Linked DNA regions of Homo sapiens: all the other regions are linked to region 1. The links are contacts of gene promoters, found by promoter capture Hi-C in blood cells and fetal thymus (Javierre and others, 2016). All regions are on one chromosome and are shown on one strand. The core of a region is centred on a gene start or on the middle of the fragment in contact, and the rest is flanking DNA. Distances in the headings are between cores, read along the strand shown. Region 1 holds the start of CLTA (clathrin light chain A). Region 2 holds the start of HRCT1 (histidine rich carboxyl terminus 1). Region 3 has its middle 13 kb from the start of SPAAR.

Region 1 (2,897 bases), core at 213-2,712:
CTCTCTCATAGTAGTCCCTGCCCCTCTTTTCCTCATGAGACTATGTCAAGGCTAATGTGAAAATACTTCATGCACTGTTGCCAATGTATGTTAGGGATGAGCATAAAACAACAGACAAGGGGAAACAGAATCAATTGCAGACCCTAACATTTTAACTTTCTTAAATGTTTTTCTTCAACACTTTCCTATGGTTCATACTTTAAATGACTTTAAAATTATGCTTTAAGTAAATATATGCTTTAAATAATTTTTATTTGCTTCATTTTTCCTTCATAGCTATCCCTTTTTTTTTGTCATCAAAGATATGTGCGTTTTTTATAAAAACACTTTCTTGTCCCCTGCTGACTACCTCTGGAAGCTTCTTGTTGACCTCTGGTTTTTTGGTTTCTTTTTTTGGCTTTTCATTTCTTAGGGTGGTGGTGGTGGTAGTGAAGGAGAGGGGTCTTCTGGTGGCCCCTGCATAAGCACTCCCCCTCAACATGAGCATGATTAACTGGAACCACTGTTATTTCTGTGGTGTAGACAAAATGAGCCATGTAGCTATTAACATCTCCCTGATTTAAAAAGAAACACGGAACTTTCTTTTTCCTGCTGTCCTTAGGGAGGAAAGGTGTAAATATAAGAGACTGTAGCTAGTATCTTGGAAGTCCCCAGGAGACAGGCGTTTCCTCTTGGTCACTGACTCTCTGGGTCACTGACGCTCCTTGAACAGCAGGGCCACCGTGTCTCCCTTTGAAGCAAGTGATCCTTAAGGAATTTTCCAGGTTTAGTAACTTCTGTCTAGCTCCGAAAAGACGTAATGGCTGCAAAAGTGCTTCGTTGAAGAAGATAAGATATATTCATTTTTAAATAAAAATACTTATGGGCGAGAAAAATCGGAGTGGACTGAATCAATTACAGTAAATCTATGGGCTCTAAGGGAGCAAATAATCCAGGCTGGCTGAAAGAATTAAATATTTTAAATTTATAAAGCCAGGGACCCTCAAATCCATAAAAGGATTCAATCTTCTTCTTCTTTTTTTTTAGGATTCAATCTTCTAATAATCCCGGGAGGGGGCGCAAGAGCAGGATTCTTGTTTCTATTTTACGAATGAGGAAACTGAGGTTCAGAAAGCCTAAGTGGCATGCCTCTTCAGTAATCGGCCAATCGTCGCTGCCCTAACTTCACCTCACCTCCCAGTGCAGCACTAGAGTCCCCTCAGGGGTGGCCGTCCCTGGTCAGTCCAGCTCCAGCAGACGGGGTGGGTAGGACGCTCCCTATCAGGCAGCACTTCCGCCTCCCGGGGCCCGCGCAGCTCACCTCCCTCACCTCCCGCCCTACCCCAGTCACGAGTTGTTTTAGGGGGACCGCCCCTCCACTTGCTGATTGGGTAGCTCCTGAACCATTGTTGTCCTCTGATTGGTTGTTCCCTTTTCGGCTCTGCAACACCGCCTAGACCGACCGGATACACGGGTAGGGCTTCCGCTTTACCCGTCTCCCTCCTGGCGCTTGTCCTCCTCTCCCAGTCGGCACCACAGCGGTGGCTGCCGGGCGTGGTGTCGGTGGGTCGGTTGGTTTTTGTCTCACCGTTGGTGTCCGTGCCGTTCAGTTGCCCGCCATGGCTGAGCTGGATCCGTTCGGCGCCCCTGCCGGCGCCCCTGGCGGTCCCGCGCTGGGGAACGGAGTGGCCGGCGCCGGCGAAGAAGACCCGGCTGCGGCCTTCTTGGCGCAGCAAGAGAGCGAGATTGCGGGCATCGAGAACGACGAGGCCTTCGCCATCCTGGACGGCGGCGCCCCCGGGCCCCAGCCGCACGGCGAGCCGCCGGGGGGTCCGGGTGAGAGTGCGGGCGCGTTTGGGGCGAGAGGACTTGTCTGGAAACTCGGTCCACAGTGGGTCCGAGAGCTTCTGTGTGACTCGTGCTCCTTGCTGAATTAGGAGGTTAGGGAGCAGTGCAAACAGGAAACGAGACCCTGGCCCGGTCTTTCAGAAACCTAGGCTCGAGAAGCCTGTTCGGTTCTCAGCATGTTTGAGTGCTTCTGGGCGCGGGCGGAGCGAGAAAGCAAGTGTAGGGTGGCAGGCTCCGGAGCCGGAAGAAGCCCGTTCAATTCAGCAACTTTTCATTAAGCATTTGCTGTGCCTTTAGTCCGGTCTCTGAAGCAACCGCATTGGCGCAGTTTTTCCAGACTTATAAGCTTATAAGTCTGAGCCGAGCACAGAACTCGTTATTAGAAAAGGAGGGCGGAAAAAAATAAGAATGGAAATATCGTTTTTGAGAGATACAAACAAAAGTAGCAATGCAGTTCAGCATTTAAGCACTTAAGGTGTACAGAGTGTTGGATTACGAGGAGGAAGGAGGGAGTAGGGAACTCGAAAGATGATCTAGGTCTGGAGAAAGAACTGCCAAGCGCGGTAGGAGTTTGCTATCGTTGAGCGATTGATTTACAGCTAGGACTTCTGGAGCTCTTCCTCTGGGAACAGCTTTGGTAGGCAATATTGCCTAAGCAGAACCCAAGATTAGCCTAAACCAATCAGGGAGGGATGAAGAGGTGAATAGAGAATGTTCTCAGCCAAACTCAAGTAAAAATGGGGCAGGTAGGATGGCAGTTTGACCTTTGGATGCCTTAACCTGTGTGTGATGCTTAGGATCATGAGTGGAAAAGACCTACTTAATAATACAAAGAAGTAGGAAATTTAGCTAGAAGAAATGAAATACGGCTTTTCATTCACTTAAAAAATTCCAACTAAGGGAGAATAGGGCACTACTGGGGCATATAGGAGTAGTGTCTACCCTAAATTCAAACCTTAAGGAGCCAGGTAGGTAACATATACGAGAGAAGCTGGCTTGACATGAGACAGTAGAAGTGTTGGAGACTGAGGCTTTGCTGCACTATAGTAGTGCTCTGTGTAAAGGCATTC
Region 2 (2,897 bases), core at 263-2,762, 280 kb before region 1:
AGGAGTTCTTACTCCAGCATCATTAAAAGTTCAAGTAGCTCCCCCAAGGGCCAAAGAAGTGCCAGGATTCATTAGACCTGCTGCCCCCTGAGCCCAGTTTGGTTGAAGGGAATGTTTAGCCTTTTCATCTGGTGAGGGTTTTCATTAAGGGTTTGAGGCCTCCCTAAGAGAACTCACCTCAGACTGAGGTCAGAGGGGGAAGGGTCCCTGGAGGTCACCTCTTGCTCCGGGAGTTCTGCAGAGGAGACAGGCTGGATCAGGGCAAGGGGTTTGCCCAACATCACAGGGTGGAGGTGCTGCCAGAACTCAGAGAACCAGCCTTGCGGTGTCTGCAGACATTCCTCCAGGCGGTAGGGAGATGAGCCTGGAGGGAGGGGCTGGGGACTCAGCCTGGAGGGACCCTGCAGAGCCAGACACAGAGCTGGGGCTTTGGGGAGCCCCACTGCATGTGAGGAAGAGCTTGGAGAACAGCCCAGCATGCCCACAGCAGAAAGGGTTGCCCAGAGAGAGAGTGAGCACCTGTTGCTGAGGTCTGTCAGCAGGATGGGACGGTGCCTCCCAGGAGGAACAGAGGGGATTTGGGCCTGGCGGGTGGGCTTGGAGGGACAGTCAGTACTGCTCAGATCCTGCCGCTCTGTAAATGCTCCACTAGGCAGGAATGGCACTCATCACTGCTGGGCAGGGAGGGTGTGACAGAGCAAGGAGCATGCCATTTATGGCCAGTTGAGACTGTTGAACTGGGAACCAGGAGGCTGGGCTGTGCCTGCCCTCTCTGAGCTCAGTGGCCTCCTTCTTGCCTCCCAGCAAGCTTGGGAGGACACCCAGACCCTCCTGCCTCCCAGAACAGGCCGGATGGAGGACCTCCCTGGATGGCAAAATCTGCCTGTGGTGCCTCCCTGAGCTTCTCAAGCTCATTGAGCTCGGGATGGCTCATCTGACAGAGCCTGACTCAGCCCCGGAGGGCTCTGCAGGCTGCAGGACAGGGAATCACAGACTCTCAGATGTCAGTGTCTCCTGAGCCATGGAGTCCATTGCAGTAATATCAGTTGCAAACATGACGGGAGCTGGTGTTGCTGCTTTACGCATCTCAACTCCTTTAGTCCTCGGAACACCCTACTGAGGAAGGAACCGTTATCAGCCATTTTACAGAAGAGGAAACAGGACAGAGAGGTTAAGTAACTTGTGCACAATCTCAGAGCAAGTGAGTGGCGTGGCTCCAAAGCCCGTGTTGTTCATCTCTGTTCTACACAGTCTCTACGAGAGGAGACTGAAGTGCGGAGAGGGAAGGTCACTGAGCCAGGCAGCAGGAGGGTTTCTTTCCTCTAGACTCAGGGCTCCTCCCTCAACCAGATCCAGCCTGACAGCTCCTCTGTCTCCACCTGGCCTCCCTGCCAGGCCTCCTCAGAGTTAACAGCGGCCTGGCCTCACCCTTGGCCAGCAGTTGCAAGTCCAAACAGGCTTCGCCCACATTCCCTGGCTGCTCTCCAGCCCGCAGCAGAGACAACAAAGTTCAGTGACTGAGAGGGCTGAGCGGAGGCTGCTGAAGGGGAGAAAGGAGTGAGGAGCTGCTGGGCAGAGAGGGACTGTCCGGCTCCCAGATGCTGGGCCTCCTGGGGAGCACAGCCCTCGTGGGATGGATCACAGGTGCTGCTGTGGCGGTCCTGCTGCTGCTGCTGCTGCTGGCCACCTGCCTTTTCCACGGACGGCAGGACTGTGACGTGGAGAGGAACCGTACAGCTGCAGGGGGAAACCGAGTCCGCCGGGCCCAGCCTTGGCCCTTCCGGCGGCGGGGCCACCTGGGAATCTTTCACCATCACCGTCATCCTGGCCACGTATCTCATGTGCCGAATGTGGGCCTCCACCACCACCACCACCCCCGCCACACCCCTCACCACCTCCACCACCACCACCACCCCCACCGCCACCATCCCCGCCACGCTCGCTGAGGCTGCTGTCGCCGGTGCCTGTGGACAGCAGCTGCCCCTGCCCTCCCATCTGTTCCCAGGACAAGTGGACCCCATGTTTCCATGTGGAAGGATGCATCTCTGGGGTGAACGAGGGGAACAATAGACTGGGGCTTGCTCCAGCTGCATTTGCATGGCATGCCCCAGTGTACTATGGCAGCAGAGAATGGAGGAACACTGGGTCTGCAGTGCTGAAGGGTTTGGGGAGTGGAGAGCAAGGGTGCTCTTTCGGGGCTGGACAGCCCGTCTTGTGACAGTGACTCCCAGTGAGCCCCAGAAATGACAAGCGTGTCTTGGCAGAGCCAGCACACAAGTGGATGTGAAGTGCCCGTCTTGACCTCCTCATCAGGCTGCTGCAGGCCTCTGGCGGGCAGGGCACTGGGAGAGGCCCTGAGAATGTCCTTTTGGTTTGGAGAAGGCAGTGTGAGGCTGCACAGTCAATTCATCGGTGCCTTAGTCCAAGAAAATAAAAACCACTAAGAAGCTTTTGTGAAGAGGCTCTTGATTGCAGCATAGTGGGAGGGAGGGAGCTGCCTGGCCTGTGTCCTCATTGCCCTGGGACCTCCCTCTCTGATGGGAAGCGTGTGGCTGGAGCAGGCGGCTTCTGTCTGGTTCTTAGGGGCTGGTTGTGGAGTGGGAAGAATTGGGTGGGCTCTGTCTGAGCTCTGAGGGAGGATTCAGGGTTTGCACAAAACCCTGCCCACAGCAGGTCCTGTGTGCACCAGCAGGGCTCTGGCCTTCCGCGGGACAGTCCTCGGGGAGAGGAAGGTTGGAGCCGCTGCGAGCCTGGCTCCCCAGGGCTCTGCCCCTGTACTTTTTTCAGCCCATGTCCAGGGCAGACTGAGCTCTGAAACTCGAGGAAGCCCCATCCACAGGCTGCCTTGAATCCAGTTTCCTTGGTAATTGGATCAGGGTTTCTTCTCCAAGCCTTGC
Region 3 (2,897 bases), core at 278-2,777, 270 kb before region 1:
CCAGTAAAGCAGGCTGTATTAACCGCAGTTTACGGATGAGGGAACCAAGACTTAGAGACACAAAAGTGACAGGCCCCACTCCAAGTCACTCAACAAATTGGTCACAAAGTTCAGCACAGGACCATATTATCCCCTCTCCTTCAGCCAGAGCCTCATTTTTGCCTCTTTTATATCTTCTGTTTCCCAGGTAGATTTTGCTTGATAAAAAGGGGTCTGCTGCTTTAAAAGGTTTGAAAGCTCCAGAATAATGTTTCCAAATTCCCCGCGAATACTTCTGTTCAGTATTCAGGAATGAGAAATTGAAATTTCTGGGAATTCATGAGCATTCCTGAAATTATACATTAAATTTTTTTTTTTTTGGAGACAGGATCTTACTCTGTCACCCAGGCTGGAGTACAGTGGTACGATCATAGCTCACTGCAGCCTCGAACTCCTGAGCTCAAGTGACCCTCCTTCCTCAGCCTCCCGAGTAGCTGAGACTATAGGTACATGCCTATAGAGTGTGCCCCTAACATCTTCATGTTAGCCATTAGGGTGCTCCTGGCTATTTTGTTTTCTTCTTTTCTAGAGACAGAGTCTTACTATGTGACCAGGCTGGTTTTGAACTCCTGGCCTCAAGCTATCTTCCTGCTTCAGCCTTTCAAAGTGTTGGGATGACAGGTGTGAGTCACTGCGCCTGGCTCATATTTTCTATAACATTATATTCACATACTTTTAAATAATAATGAATGACCAGAATAATAAACAGTTAATAATTGTCAGTGACAAATTGATGCTAAAAGTTCCAGACTTTTTCCTTAAGGTTTATTATTATTATGAACCAATATGTTGTGACAAGATTATTTCAATAACATAAAAATTATCTCCACCTGATATAGGCACTGGATATAGAAAACATTAAAAAGGAGGGAACATTATTGCAAAATAAATGCCAGATAAAAATCACTTAAAAATGGAAAAATAATAGCACAAACATTTAATTTTAAAAGTTATTTTTAAAATGAACTTTTAAAACACAAAGCTTTAATTGCTCTATCTGATAGTTTTGATCTTTGTTTTGTGACAAATATTCTAGATGTAGGAAACTTTTTTGTTTTTTCATTTTTCATTGATGTTGGTTGAGTGTGCCCCTAACATCTTCAGGTTAGCCATTAGGGTACATGTTGTTTTATAGAAGCTCATTTCCTTTTTAAATGATGCTTTATTTTTATTTTTACTTTTTGGTCTGCTTACTCTGGTCTTGATTTTGCCATTGAGATCAATATTGCTCTTGCTAATTCAGATTTTAGAGCAATTTCTGATTTCCTTCTGGAGTGTTCTATAACAGCAATCACGTCTTCTTTTTGCATCTCTTCTGTTAAAGTATTTACAAAGAACTGTAGCCTATAATGAATATTCAACACGTGGAAATGCCAGCAATCATTACTGGGAAGTGTTCAAATAACTAACATTCAGACTCACTAACAAGGTTCATAGAATCACTTGTTGGAATTGCCAGTTTCAAGACTTATTTTGCTTTCAAAATTTGTTATTTTTTTCCGACACTGCTCATAGGACTTGTATAAGTATCCTATGTGTACAAACTTACCAATATTTGTTTTATTTGCAAAAATGACTTACCATTAGAAGCAGACCAGGTCACAAACACACACTTATAACCAGTGTGTGCTGGTAAACTGACTCTCCTGGAGAAAAAAAAAAAAACCCTTATATGTAGGGTTTGCCAAATTCTGAGGGGAGGCATAAATGTTCCCACAATGGTCAATGCCCAGCTACCGAGGGGATGTCACTGAGAGCTGGGAAGAGCAGCATACAACTGGCTCTTCTTGAGCCAGCGCTAGCCCACCACCACCTCTACCCTGGCAACAGCAGTCGGAAGACTGATTAGATGATGGCCTTTTCTCTCCTCTACTCCCCAGTTCCATTCAGAACTTAACTTTCCTATGGGTGCCTCAGTATTTTCTACTCTCGCTTTTGATTTGGTGTCAGTGGATTCCTTTGAACTAGTCACATCTAGTTCAACATGTTGATTGCTAAGCTTTAATTCTCACACAAAAACACTCTTACCAGGTTCCTAGATGTCTTAACTTCTTTTTCTCAGGAATTGGCATTTGGAAAAACAGTATTTCCGAGAAATGCTGGGAAGGAATTCCTGCATAAAAACACAAATCTGGCCGGGCACGGTGGCTCGTGCCTGTATTCCCAGCACTTTGGGAGGCTGAGGCAGGTGGATCATGAGGTCAAGAGATCAAGACCATCCTGGCCAGCATGGTGAAACCCCATCTGTACTAAAAATATAAAAATTAGCTGGGCGTGGTGGTGCGCGCCTGTAGTCCCAGCTACTCGGGAGGCTGAGGCAGGAGAATCACTTGAACCCGGGAGATGGAGGTTGCAGTGAGCCGAGATTGTGCCACTGCACTCCAGCCTGGGCAACAGAGGGAGACTCCATCTCAAACAAAGCAAAACAAAACACAACACAAATCCAGGAAACCCAAGTAAAACCTATTTGCTTGACTGATCGTGATCCTACTGGATACATTCTCCTGGGTCCCAATTTTGGCCACCGCTCATTTTCATTGATCTCATTTTAAGGGGTTTGAGGTATGGAGTCCTTAGGATTTGGTGTTAAGTTTGGTGATTTTTCAGAGAGGCCGCACCAGAGCTGCATCGGTGATCATTTGACTTTATGTCTGACCCTGTGCACAGGGGTCTACTTGTCTCCTAACCTCAGTTTTCCTCTTTTTCCTTATTAGAAAAACAACAATAACATCAACACAGTCCCTCTTGGAACTAGGAATGGCCAGTAGAAGTGGTGTGTGACTTCTGGGAAATGTCCTTAAATAGAGGCGGAATACTCTTCTTTGTTTTTTCTCCTTTATCTGGCCAGAATGTAGATA

The links. Contacts are between HindIII fragments. The CHiCAGO score rates a contact against its expected background, and 5 or more counts as called.
Region 2: a contact is called between the fragment with the promoter of HRCT1 here and the fragment with the promoter of CLTA in region 1, in 1 of 17 cell types (endothelial precursors). The highest score is 5.1, in endothelial precursors.
Region 3: a fragment that was not itself captured here is called in contact with the fragment with the promoter of CLTA in region 1 in 1 of 17 cell types (endothelial precursors); the score reaches 5.7 in endothelial precursors.

What each region holds. Positions count from the first base shown.
Region 1 is chr9:36,189,459-36,192,355 of GRCh38, forward strand. CLTA (clathrin light chain A) reads left to right here and starts at 1,463. Exons shown (of 5, transcript NM_001833.4): 1 at 1,463-1,815. The coding sequence starts at 1,599. RefSeq lists enhancers at 1,098-1,723, 1,439-1,658. The HindIII fragment of the contact is 1,815 bases long and covers 357-2,171 here.
Region 2 is chr9:35,904,690-35,907,586 of GRCh38, forward strand. HRCT1 (histidine rich carboxyl terminus 1) reads left to right here and starts at 1,513. Exons shown (of 1, transcript NM_001039792.2): 1 at 1,513-2,447. The coding sequence starts at 1,599. The coding sequence ends at 1,946. It overlaps LOC124902149 (a long non-coding RNA gene), which reads right to left and starts at 981. Exons shown (of 3, transcript XR_007061471.1): 1 at 1-981. RefSeq lists an enhancer at 179-1,060. The HindIII fragment of the contact is 1,640 bases long and covers 807-2,446 here.
Region 3 is chr9:35,920,756-35,923,652 of GRCh38, forward strand. No RefSeq gene overlaps it. Among named protein-coding and RNA genes, the nearest start is that of SPAAR, 13 kb to the left of the region's middle. RefSeq lists an enhancer at 2,516-2,897. The HindIII fragment of the contact is 1,017 bases long and covers 1,020-2,036 here.